Regions from separate parts of the Homo sapiens genome. Here region 2 is linked to region 1. Evidence: promoter capture Hi-C in 16 types of primary human blood cells and fetal thymus (Javierre and others, 2016). All regions are on one chromosome and are shown on one strand. Each heading gives the region's core, a stretch centred on a gene start or on the middle of the fragment in contact. The rest is flanking DNA. Distances are from core to core; before and after follow the strand shown. Region 1 holds the start of LINC01949 (long intergenic non-protein coding RNA 1949). Region 2 has its middle 5.0 kb from the start of SNORD138.

What was found. The method cuts DNA at HindIII sites, captures the fragments that hold promoters and counts their contacts. A CHiCAGO score of 5 or more calls a contact.
Region 2: a fragment that was not itself captured here is called in contact with the fragment with the promoter of LINC01949 in region 1 in 1 of 17 cell types (monocytes); the score reaches 5.2 in monocytes.

Annotation. Positions count from the first base shown.
Region 1 is chr5:87,235,767-87,242,085 of GRCh38, forward strand. LINC01949 (long intergenic non-protein coding RNA 1949) reads right to left here and starts at 3,435. Exons shown (of 3, transcript NR_130914.1): 1 at 3,300-3,435; 2 at 3,049-3,215. All of the region lies in intron 2 of LOC101929380 (a long non-coding RNA gene), which reads left to right. The HindIII fragment of the contact is 4,009 bases long and covers 3,193-6,319 here.
Region 2 is chr5:86,622,365-86,628,562 of GRCh38, forward strand. No RefSeq gene overlaps it. Among named protein-coding and RNA genes, the nearest start is that of SNORD138, 5.0 kb to the left of the region's middle. The HindIII fragment of the contact is 1,561 bases long and covers 2,825-4,385 here.

The DNA.
Region 1 (6,319 bases), core at 2,185-4,684:
TTACTATGTTCCCTAAGTTGGTCTCAAACTCCTGGGCTCAAGCAATCCTCCCACGTCAGGAGTGGGAGGATTGTTGCAACTACACATATTGCATCTACAGGCATGTGCCACTGAGCCTGGCTTCAAGTTCAAGTGGGATTTATCCCAAGGATGCAAGGATGGTTCAAAACATGCAAGTCAATAATCGTGATATATCACATCAACAGAATGAAGAATTAAAAAAATGATCATTTCAATAGATGCAGAAAAAGCATTTCATAATATTCAATATCACTTAATGATAAAAACTTTCAACAAATTAGGCATAGAAGGAAAGCACCTCAACACAATAAAAGCCATATATGACAAACCCACAGCTAACATACTGAATGGGGAAAAGATGGAAGCTTTTCCTCTAAAAACTGGAATAAGACAAGGATGCCCACTTTCACTACTCTTATTCAACATAGTATTGAAGTCTTAATTAGATCACTTAGGCAAGAGAAAGAAATAAAAGCCATTCAGACTGGAAAGGAAGAAGTCAAACTGTCCCTGTTTGCGGATAACATGATCTTATATATAGATAATGCTAAAGATGACCAAAAAACTCTTAGAGCTGATAAACAAATTCGGTAAAGCTGCAAAATACAAAATCAGCGTACAAAAATCAGTAGCATTTCCATTTATAATTATACCTACCCAAAAAAGTCTAGGAATAAATTTAATAAAGGGGGTGAAATATCTCTAAAATGAAAACTACAAAACACTGATGAAAAAATTAAGAGGACACAAAAAATGAAAAGTCATCCTATATTTATGGATTGCAAGAATTAATATTTTTAAAATTACCATGCCATCCAAGGTAATCTACATATTCAATCCAATTCCTATCAAAATACCAATAACATTCTTCACAAAAATAGAAAAAAAACCCTAAAATCCAAACAGCCAAAGCAATCCTAAGCAAAAACAAAAACAAACAAACAAACAAAAACAAAGCTGGCAGCATCACACTACCTGACTTCAAAATATACGACAAAGCTATGGTAACTACATGGCATGATATTGCATAAAAATAGACGCATAGACATAGAGAACCTAGAAATCACATACTTATAAAATTGTGCTTCTGCTCTTTAAGAAGAAATGTGGATAGATATGTTATGGGTAACCAATAGTGACTGCCACAGTGGTTGTATAAATTCCTGCTCCTGTAGAAGTGTGTGTGTTTGTGTTTGTATGTGTTTTACTTGCTAATATAAGGTTTTGTTTTTCAGTCATTTTGGAAGTTTGTTGTATGTTATAGGTAAACTCTGGTTCACATTCACATTTTCATGATAAATGGTTAAGCATTTTTTCCATATATTTATGGCCATCTGAGTCTCCTCTTCTGTGAACTATGTTTATGTTTTTGTTCTCTTTTGATATTTCTTATCTACCTGAGGAGCTCTTTATAGTCTAGATATGAATTATTTTGTAAGATGTATGCATCACAGATATTTTCTCCCAGTCTGTGTGCTATGGACTGAATGTTTGTGTCCCCAAAAAACTCCTATGTTGAAATCCAATCCTCCCACCCCCATCCTGCCTTCCAAAGTGATAGTATTTGGATCTGAGGCCATTGGAAAGTGATTATATCATGAGGGTGAATCCCTCATAAATAGGATTAGTGCTCTTGTAAAAAGTACTCCAGAGAGCCATCTTGTTTTTCTGCCATGTGAGGACATAGTGAGAAGATGGTGGTCTATAAACTAGAAAGTGGGCTCTCTTTGACTGGGACTGCTCAGCCTCCAGAAACTATGAGAAATAAATGTTGTTTAAGCCACTCAGTCTATGGTATTTTTTTATACAGCCAGAATGGACTAAGACACTGTAACTTATCTCTTAATTGTATTTTGGTGTCTTTTACGGAACACATGTTTTATTTAATGTTATAAAAAAAATGCATTTTGTCGTTTATGCCATTGCATCTAGCTTAAGAAAGCTTTCCTTACTGGAAGTCATAAATTCTCCTATCTTTTTCTAAAAGTCTTAAAGTTTTGCTCTTTGTATTTAAGTTTCTTTCATCTGAAGTATATTCCATGTAAATAGAGTGAGGCAGAGATCTTTCTGACTTTTTCCCATGTGACTAACCAATTATCCCGGCATTATTTGTTATTTTTTTATTTTACTCCTGAATTTTAATGTCACACTTGTCATACACCAAGTTATCAAATATGTGAATCTGTTCTGAGTTTTGTTTTGTTGGTCTATTAATTTTATTTCTGACACAATAATACAGTTGTATAATTACAACATTAGAATATCAATATCTGGTAAAGTAATATCAGTGAAACTGATTTATGAATTGCATGTAAAAATTTTAAGGCCACCATGTCAATGTAATTAGCACTGGCCTACAGATAACCTATTGATTTGACCACTTTGCTCTTGTATGTAGAAACTTTGCTTAACTCTCCTATTCCAGTTCTTCAGCTGTACAATTATTGGATTTTCTATAAAAAAAAATATTCAAATAATCAATATTTGATCTTCCCTAATCCATATAACTGGTTATTTCTTTCTTATTTCATTGGTTAGGAACTCCAGAGCAATGATGATTATTGGTGGAGATAATAAGTATTAATGCTTGTTCCTAATGTTAATGGGAATTTTATAACTCTCATACATTATTTCTAGGATAAATCATATTTGATCATAATGCATTTTTTAAAATGCTTGATTCAATTTGTCAACATCTTATGATACTTGCATGTACTCATAAGGAAGATTAACCTATAATTTTTCTTTCTCTTATTTTTCTAGTTCAGCTAACTAGAATATATTAACTTCATGAGAGAAACTACAGAATTTTCCTCTTTTTCTGTATTTTGTAGCATTTTGTGCTAAAGAGATTTTTCTGTGCTTTGAATGTTTGTTGGTAATCCCTGTGTAAAATTTTCTAGACTTACTGTTATTTATTTTGGGTAGGTTTTTGCTTACTAATTCAATTTTTCCAAAGGCTTTCTCCTCAGACATAGATTTACTCTTGAGTCAATTTTGGTAATTTAAATTTTTAGTGATGCCCACCTGCAAAGGGCCAGGTCTGGCATACAGTTTGAAATTTGCTGCCAGAGTCCCATTTTGCAATCCCGAACTTCTGGTGGAGACTGGGGTGTCCATGGCCCACTACCCAGTGGCGAGTAAACTCTTTGCTCCCAGACTGTTGCAAGAAGCTTAAAGGATGGCCTCCAGATCTGGAACAATTATGTTCTCATATTAATAAAAAGATTAACAATATTTTTAAAAATCTGTCATTGAGAAACTGGCCAAGAACCTACCTTGAAGAATATCTTAATAGGAGATGAGATCACTGTAAGAAATGAACTTCTAAATAAATTTGAATAGGAAATTCAGTATTAAGAACAAACCAACAATTCACTCAAGGAACTCTGTAAATCTCTTGAAGAATATTATAAAATGTGGAATATCTCAAAGAAAACTTTCCTTCCCATGTGCCTCAAATAACAGGTCTCAAACTCCTAGCCTCAATCAGTCCTCCCACCTCAGCCTCCCAAAGTGCTGGGATTACAGGTGTGAGCCACTGTCCCCAGCCATAATTTATTTATATTTTATTTCTTTAGCTTTTTCATCTTCTATCCTGTTTCATATAAAATTCAAACTTTTTTGGATAAATTTTTTAATCAAATGCTTCCGTTTAAGTTAGTTTTAGCATTTATTTTTATAAAATTTTAGCATGTAATTTTAAAATAATTTTTTATATTTTAAGATCATACCTGTCCATGTGACTCCAATTCAGCTGTAAAAGATCTGAGAAATATTTGATCTGTTGTCCAGGAAGAAAAGGAGAGGAGGAACATTCTTCTATCATTTCACTCTTACCTGTATATGAAGAATATACTTACCTCCCCCGAAGGAGGACAATCTGAAGTCCCTTCTAGTTAGTGCATTCAGCTCAAAGCCCAAGACATTCAAGAAATGTGTCATCTTCTCCAATACGTGAATGTTTGAATTCTCCTGAAATAAAATCCCATGAACTGAAGAAATATCCTGTCTTTACCACCACTCCCATATACACCTACATGTGAGGGTGCATGCATGCACATGAACACACACACATCTAATATACAAAATGAATCAAGGACAGAAGTAGCTATAATAGGAATCTGATTAGTAAGGGTAGGAATGGAAGGCAAGCAACAGTAACCAGTGCATATAGATCTTAAACAACAGATCGCCAAACACACTGCAGAATGATAAGAGGGTCTGAAATGTAATACATCAAGTGTTAATGTGCCAGACCTAGAAGTGGCAAATGTCACTTGGACATATTCCACTGGCTAAAACTCAGTTACATAGGCCCAGTAAAATGATAAAAAGCCTATGTAAGTTTTGGTTGTATGCCAAAAAAGAAGAGGACAAAATGGATATTGATGTGCACTAACAGTCTGTGTCATCATGGTGACATGATCCTTCTATCATGAAGTAATCAACCTCTTTAGAGAAAAATCATTATTAGACTTAAAGTTGTTTTCTAATATCAATATTACTGTCAGATCTATTTTGGTCCGGTTCCTGGTGTACAGTTTTTCAACCTATGACAGTAAGTTCTCAACGTTGTTGATAGGGTCTTGGAAACTTCAACTTCAAGTGAGATGCCATGTAACAAAACCAGTTTTACTATAGGCTAATTAATATAAACAAGAATTAGTTCCTATGGCATATTTGTATCACAAAAACATCAACAAATTTCTAAGTGAAGACTTGAAACACTTCTAATGTTGAATATTGATATAAATGTAAGCTATACATACATTTAAGAAAAATCAACAAAAATAAGTAAGCAATTTGTCCAATTTTTGGTGAATCAGTGAGTGACAGCCGTCATCCTGGTGGTAGGTTAAATCAAGAAATAAATGTTTGTAAAGTGAAAATTGTCAGGAGTACCTCCTACCAACACACAGTTCAAAAACAAACAATATTCAATAAGGCAGACTCTCTAAGCACTTTCATACAACATTTCTTATTATTTTGCATTTGTATGATTATCAAATACTTTATATTTTATCTTATAATAATTTGTATTCATTTATTCTTTCATTTTCCAACCCACTTACTCCAGTTCAGGTTACAGGAGGCCAAAGCCCATTCAGCAGTTCAGGATACAAGGTGGGAAGCAACCCTGGCCATGACACCATCCCAACACAGGGCACACTCATACATATACCCACACTCACCTTGACTGAGATCGCTGACACATGCCCACCCACCTGAAATACACATCTTCAGGATGTGGGAAGAAACTGGAGTACCTGGAGAAAATCCACACAGACATGGGGAAAAGGTGCAAATTTCACAAAGACATTAGCCTCAACCATGAATTAATTTTTTTTCCCATCAACATTATAACAAAGTAACATTATCTGAGCACCTGATATAATTTCAGTCTTTTGAGATTATTACTATTATGAGACAAAATCTCACTTTGTAGCCCTGGGTAGAATGTAGTGGTGCAACCTCGGCTCACCGCAACTTTCATCTCTGGGTTCAAGTGATTCTCATGCCTCAGCCTCCAGAGTAGCTGGGATTACAGGTGTGTGCCACCATGCTTGGCCAATTTTTGTATTTTTAGTAGAGATGGGGTCTTACCATGTTAGCCAGGCTGATCTCGAACTATTGAGCTCAAGCTATTCACCCGCTTCAGCCTCCCAAACTGCTGCGACTACAGGCAAGAGCCACTGCGCCCAGCCTCTTGAGATTATTATATTTTGGGTGTGATTCTTTAAAAAAGCATATAGCCTAAACTTAGTTTTTTTAATCCAATCTGGGAATCTCTGTATTTTTCAGGTGAATTTAATCCATTTTCAGTTTTACAAGTTTGATACTAGAAAAGAGTTATTTTCAAAGAGCAAAACTATCATTCAAGATGTATTGTGAAATAAACATTTCTCAGAATAAGACAGAATGTACCACTTGCAGACCCTCTTTAAAATAACTGCTGAAGTATGCAGAATGCAAAAAGCAATGTCTGTAAAAAATAATACTTGGTGAACATGTTGATAAATCTTATTAAATACCGTGAAAAAAGATGAATTTGGGGGTTCTTAATGACAACTTGAAATATGGTACAATTAAAGATAGGAGTGGGATGTTAAACTTAAAATATTTCAGGGTACTTGAGTTTGAAACGAACTAAATAGAAATATTGATGGGAGATGTGTGCTACAGAGACAGACTTAGCAACTATCAATAAAAGAGAAGAAAATCACAGAAATGTTTTTGGATGAAGTGCTTTCCCCAGCAGGGAAGTGAATCTAACTAATCCTAGGTAATGTAATGA
Region 2 (6,198 bases), core at 2,355-4,854, 610 kb before region 1:
TTTTTGAGATCCAGTAAGTTATATAAAAACTTCTCACAAGTCCTAAATGAATATGAATTTTTTGGAGAGGATGTTCAAATATATATTAGGAATCAATAGTAACAGTTATGGGTAGCTAGGTCTAGCTAGAAAAGTATTTGAGGGATATATGTGAGTGAGAAAAAAACCTCCTCTGCCTGTCTTGTAATAGTACAGATTGTGCCATCCCCATAAAAAGCCTTCAGCAGGCTGGCTGTAAGTGCGTAAGTTTATTGTAAGTGGTAGAGGGTGTATAACTGCTTAGTTTCTGTGTTAGGGTTCTCTAGACAAGCAGATCAAGAGGATGCACATAGAAAAAATTAAAATTGTCATCTGATTCTGGAGGCTTGGGTTGAAAATATGGGTATGCCCGCGGGCTGGAGACTCGGCAAAGGCAGTCGCTGTCAGAATTCCTCCTTGCGGGAGGACCTCCTTGTGGTCAGTCTTTGTTCATTAAGATCTTCAACGAATTCAAGAAGCTTAGCCACATAAGGAGGATCAGCTTTACTCCAAGTCCACTGACTTAAATGGTAAACTCATGATAATTCAAGAAACACCTTCACAGAAATATCTAGAGGATTGTTGATCCAAATATTTGAGCACTGTGTCCTTGCCAAGTTGACACAAAATTAACCATAACAGTAGTTCAGTTTTCTATTTCCCTAAACTGGTTTTTAAAATTCAAGCCAATATTTAAAACCAGGAGGTCTCCATAAAAATCCAGATTCTCGGGGAAAAAAAAAAAAATTACACTGGATGAACCCACAAATGCCCATGTGAAACTAATCAGGACCAAGTAAAAAGTTTGTACCTTTTGCAGATGCTTCCCTAACTCACTAGAATACTGGAATAGGAATTTTGGTTAGAATCCAGGATTTGTTTTAAAGAGAAGTCACTATCACTGTTTCCGTAATTAAGTTATGGCCACAATGAAGGAAGTAATTCAAAATGTCTTAGGTTTTGCTGCAGAGACCATAGAGGTTAAGAATGTGGGCTCAGAACTAAGTCTTGGCTGGATTCAAAGCCAGGGTTGATAAATTCCTCGTCTTCGACAATCTGTACCTCCCTTTTATCTAATTTGGTGTAGTTGTGAAGATTAAAAATGAAAATAGAGGCCCAGCGCAGTGGCTCACACCTGTAATCCCAGCACTCAGAGGCCGAGGTGGGTGAATCACGAGGTCAGAAGTTCGAGACCAGCCTGGCCAACATGGTGAAACCCCATTTCTACTAAAAATACAAAAAAATAGTTGGGTGTAGTGGTGGGCGCCTACAATCCCAGCTACTTAGGAGGCCGAGACAGGAGAATTGCTTGAACCCAGGAGGCAGAGGTTGCAGTGACCCGAGGTCACACCACTGCACTCCAGCCTGGCAGACAGAGCAAGACTGTCTCAAAAAAGAAAACAGAAAAAAAAAAAAAGAAAATACACCTAAATTGAGGCAAATTTTCTTAAGCTTTTAGTGTAGAGTGCTTAATTGAAACAAGCGAGATGGGGGAAGTATAATGGGCATTGTGTAAGTCGTTAAAGTTGATCCCAGAGCAATTCTGCAATAGTTAATAGATTGGTCTGTGCTGTAGACACTGTGTCTTCAAAAGTGATGCCAGAATGATAGTGCTAAAATGCAAGTCATCATTTTACTCACTGTAAGACACCTCACCATGACAATGGTCACTTCCCTATAGTTTCAGCCTCATCCCAGCCATATCACACAGTTTTATGTACCACCTCCAAGTCTTAATTTAGCTCAGGTGCCACCTTTTCTATAAAGCCTTCCCTTTTTATTTTATTTTTTTAAGAGATAGGGTCTCGATTTGTCACCCAGGCTGGAGTACAGTGGCACAATCATAGCTGGCTGCCACCCTCCAGGGGATCCTCCTGCCTCAGCATCTGGAGTAGTTGTGGCTACAGGGGCTTGTCACCATCCCTGGCTAGTACTTTTTATTTTTTGAGGAGACTGAGTCTCACTGTATTGCCCAGGCTGGTCTCATACTCCTGGCCGCAATTACTCCTCCTTTGAGAGATTATAGGCATGTGCCACCAAACCCAGTCCCTTCCTGATTTAACACACTCCACATAAATCTCTAACACCCTGTAAACAGCCTTATAATTCAGCAGGTACTGTAATTACTGATTTCCTTATCTACCTTTCATACCAGCTTGTGATCTTTCTGAGCCCAGAGAGCCTTCTTTATTCATGTATCCTGCATCTATAATTTAGCTGGTGATCCATTAACACTCTATTCTATTAATCCTTTCAATAATCTGAAGCCAAGAATAAAAATTACCTAAAAACAAATTCTAGGCCTCTTACGCACTAAATGTATGTTTCAATGCTTTATGAATAAAAATGAATTTTTCCTGGATAGTTGGAAATTGGTTCTCCCACCAAACATAAATGTATTGAAATAATCCAGTTGAAAAAAAATGAGTTTAAATTTGCACCAAAATGTAACTCAACTATGTCACCACTGTTTAGTCTATCTGATATCTCTTTTTCTTTGCAGACAAACCCTTAATGAAGGAAAGTGTGTTGATATACATTCCAGGAAAGCTCTTCATCTTATATCAAGCCAGCATTTTAAGAAGCACTGGCTTAAAGAACTGGGGAATTTTTTATTTTTTTTAATCTTGTGTAACAAAAGATGGAGCTCAGGAATTTTAGGGCCCTCCAAGTTCCTCAGCCTGTTTTTTCTAAACCATTTCTTTCATTCTCATAAGATGGCTGCTACAGTTCCAGTTATCCCATACAGACTTGACAATACCCAGCAAGAAAAATTACTGTCTTTGTTATTTTTCAAAGTGAAGAAAGCTTTCCTTCAGACTATCCCTCATTAGTCACTGTCCAGAAAAGTGATAAATTCACTTCTGAATATAACACGGGCAAGGGAATAGCATGACAATGATTAAATTTGATCAATTAGCATTTTCTCACAAGTCTTACGTGGGCAGAGGAGATACTGAAACAAGTCAGGATTCTACCAGAAAGGGAAGAGAAAGTGGCTATTGGGTATGCAAAAGACACTGCCTGCTGCAATTATTCTATATACTATACTAAAAAGATGGACTGGAATGCCATAAAATGTAATAAGCCTTCATTTTAGTGTTTCCAATAAATAAAGATCACAGCATAGGTCTTTAGAGTAAGCTATATAGAATAGAGCAGAAATACCGTTTATGCTTTTTCTTTCTGTCTCCTTTCAATAGAAAATAATAATATGAGCTTTTATATGATTTATACTCTGCCTACATCAAAACCTTTTTAAAAACTTCATCTATTATCAAATGGTGTTTTGTTATCATAGCTATTGTAACGTTATAACCCAGAGGGAAGATAGCCACTTTCCATATATCTTAATACAGTGATGATTTTTTACTGAGTATATAATTCAAAAAATGTATAGTTGATTTGTGTGGTACCCACATTTCCTTCCTTAACCTGGTATAGTAATCATTAAGGCTTTTCATAAATATGACAGCTCTATTTCTGTACACATAGGATCAAAATCTAACCCCTTTGCTTTGACAATAAAAAACTGAGAAGTTACATGCATTACCTCTACATGAAAGCTCTAAAAGGCAGTATACCCTTCACCAACTTCCCTTCTTCCTGCTACAGGGATATAGCCTCCATCAGCCTAGGTTCCTGAAAGACTCTGTAAGTGTAGCCCCATGTCAGATGTATAGAGTGAGCAAGAAATTTTCATTGTTATAAGCATTTGGGGTTTGGGGATCATTAGTTACTGCAGTAAAAGTTGTCCTACCTTCAGAATACTTAAGCACTTCATATGTCCTTCAAAAGTATCACTTATCTACTTCTCTGATTCTTCAGTCAAAGAATTGTGTCAACTAGATGATCTTTTAAGGACTCTTCCCAATTAAAGTGAATTGTATCTACAATTACAAATGTGGGTACCACACAAAAGCCTGACTCAGAGGTGGTAAGATCTCTTTTCAGCACTTTTCATGTGTGGACAGGGGCCAGAATGATGGAGATAAGTCATCTTGGGCTTTCAAAGTGGTTTTCAGATGCAGCTCTGAGCAACTACCTACTAGCCATTTCCACCTTATCTCTCATTTTCATGGACTCTATTTACCCATTGTATACTTTTGTAAAAATTGGAAAGTGAGTCTCTTCTTCCAGAGGGACACAGCATCATGCCAGAGCCCTCGTGCTTTCCTGTTCAGTACCTCTGTATCACTGTAAAACAGTACAGCTTTGTGTTACATTCCTGTACAGTCATCTCAACTTTGAATTTTGCAGATTATTCCTACTAAAATTCACTCCTCCCCCCAAATTTTCCCAGCTCTAACAAAAGGTGGATAGCATAATTATTATGGGTTGAATAGGGGTCTGTATTTTTTAGAATAAGCTTTGTGTGTTTTCTTTGCTGGATTCCAAAACATAGCACTATGCTTAGTAAATATTAAGCTTTCAACAAATATATTTAGATAGATGAAGGCATGGAAGAATACTAATCAGATTTAATGGCATCTTCGAGTTTAAAAGCATTAGAAACCAGTCTAGGAAGTTCTCTACTTGATGCATCCCTCTCTAAGGAGGACCAGGAGGTGATTGTTAAGTACCCATATATTGATAAATTTATCAGGGTTATCTTAACCCTAATTAGCTTAGTATTATCAAAAAAATTTCCCATTCATTATGTTGTGAGAGGGATTTTATACCATCTATGAAACTGCCTAGTGTGAAATCTTTATTCACGCTCCAGCCTTCATACTAGCTACCAAAACAATTGTTTAAAAGTGATTGTTTATTTTCCCCAGACAGAATATATACTAAGTTGAACCATATGAAATTACTGAATTTTACTGTTTTTTTAACCCATCAGATGGTAATTTCTGATGGTTCAGTGGTCATAGTTTCCCTTTTCAGTTACTGGACCACCCGTAGAGTTCCTTTCACCCATATATATATATATACACCTGTTTTGGGAAATTGTGGATTTTACCAACACCAAAAATTGACTAATTGGGTTGTATACACTCAGTATAGCAGAACTAATTCTGCTTAATCTTGGTACCATTATTTCATTACCAATTATACAACAGATGGTCTGAAATTCCCAAATGTTGCCTTTTACTAAGAGTCTGCGCTTTGGGGAAATAGTTCTGAATTACACAGCTCTGAAATCCATTACTTTTGGATGCAGAGTACAATGAACTTACAGCAAGACTATGGCTTGCAATGTTTTTCATTGTGGGATTTAATGTAAATTATCTGGATTTTAGAAAAGGAATTCTAAGTATTTCCATGTTTTCATAGGAAAAAAATGGACTTATTTTAAATCTAAATCTCCCTTCACATCCTCCAAAAAAAATCATGCTGATTGTCAGGAAAAGAAAATTCACTCATAACCTATACCTTTAATGTAGCTAGGAAATAGATTTTAAATTACCTACCAATAGGAAAATAAACACTTGAGACAAGCAAAATTGTATCTAGAGCCTACACCCAATGGGAGACAAGCAGAGATGAGGGCAAGATGGGAATATAGATGAGGGATGTAGGGTAGGGAGAATGGGGATGGTAAAATACAGATAAAATTGCTCAAACCAAGTGCCACTCAGAGCAAGAAAATACTGAGAGTTAGTTTGAGCTCTTGTAGGTGACTGATGGGGAATTGAAAGACAGGAACTTGAAAATCAATGGAGCCCAAGGCAAGAGTTTCAGAATGGCACCACTTCCAAGTAAATAGAAGTGTCAAGAAGATTGCGCCCTTGGTGCCTTAGAGGTAAAAGAAGAAAAAGGAAGCAAAAGGGGGAAATGAATATTCCTGTTAAAACAAAAAGAGGGTCACAAAATCAGAAGACACCAAGTTTTTCCCAACCAAACAAGTACATTGGTTAAAGAAACTATAATATTTCACCATATCAAGTGAAATACCCTTGAACAAAAAAACCTAGTTATCTTCCTCAAATTCTCAAAGGTTAATAATAATTATATTAGCACATAAAAAATCAAAGCAAAAATATGACAGATGACAGTCACATAAAGTTATTATAAGAATAAAGTAGAAATTTAGAAGCCTAACATTTTATTTCAGCTGATGAAAATTCTGCCCCTAATAAATACCATTCATGCAGCAGAAAAAATCCCTAACACAACCTAATCTGAATTAACCTCAAACAACCATTTGCAAATATTAGGGGAGAAAAAACACCA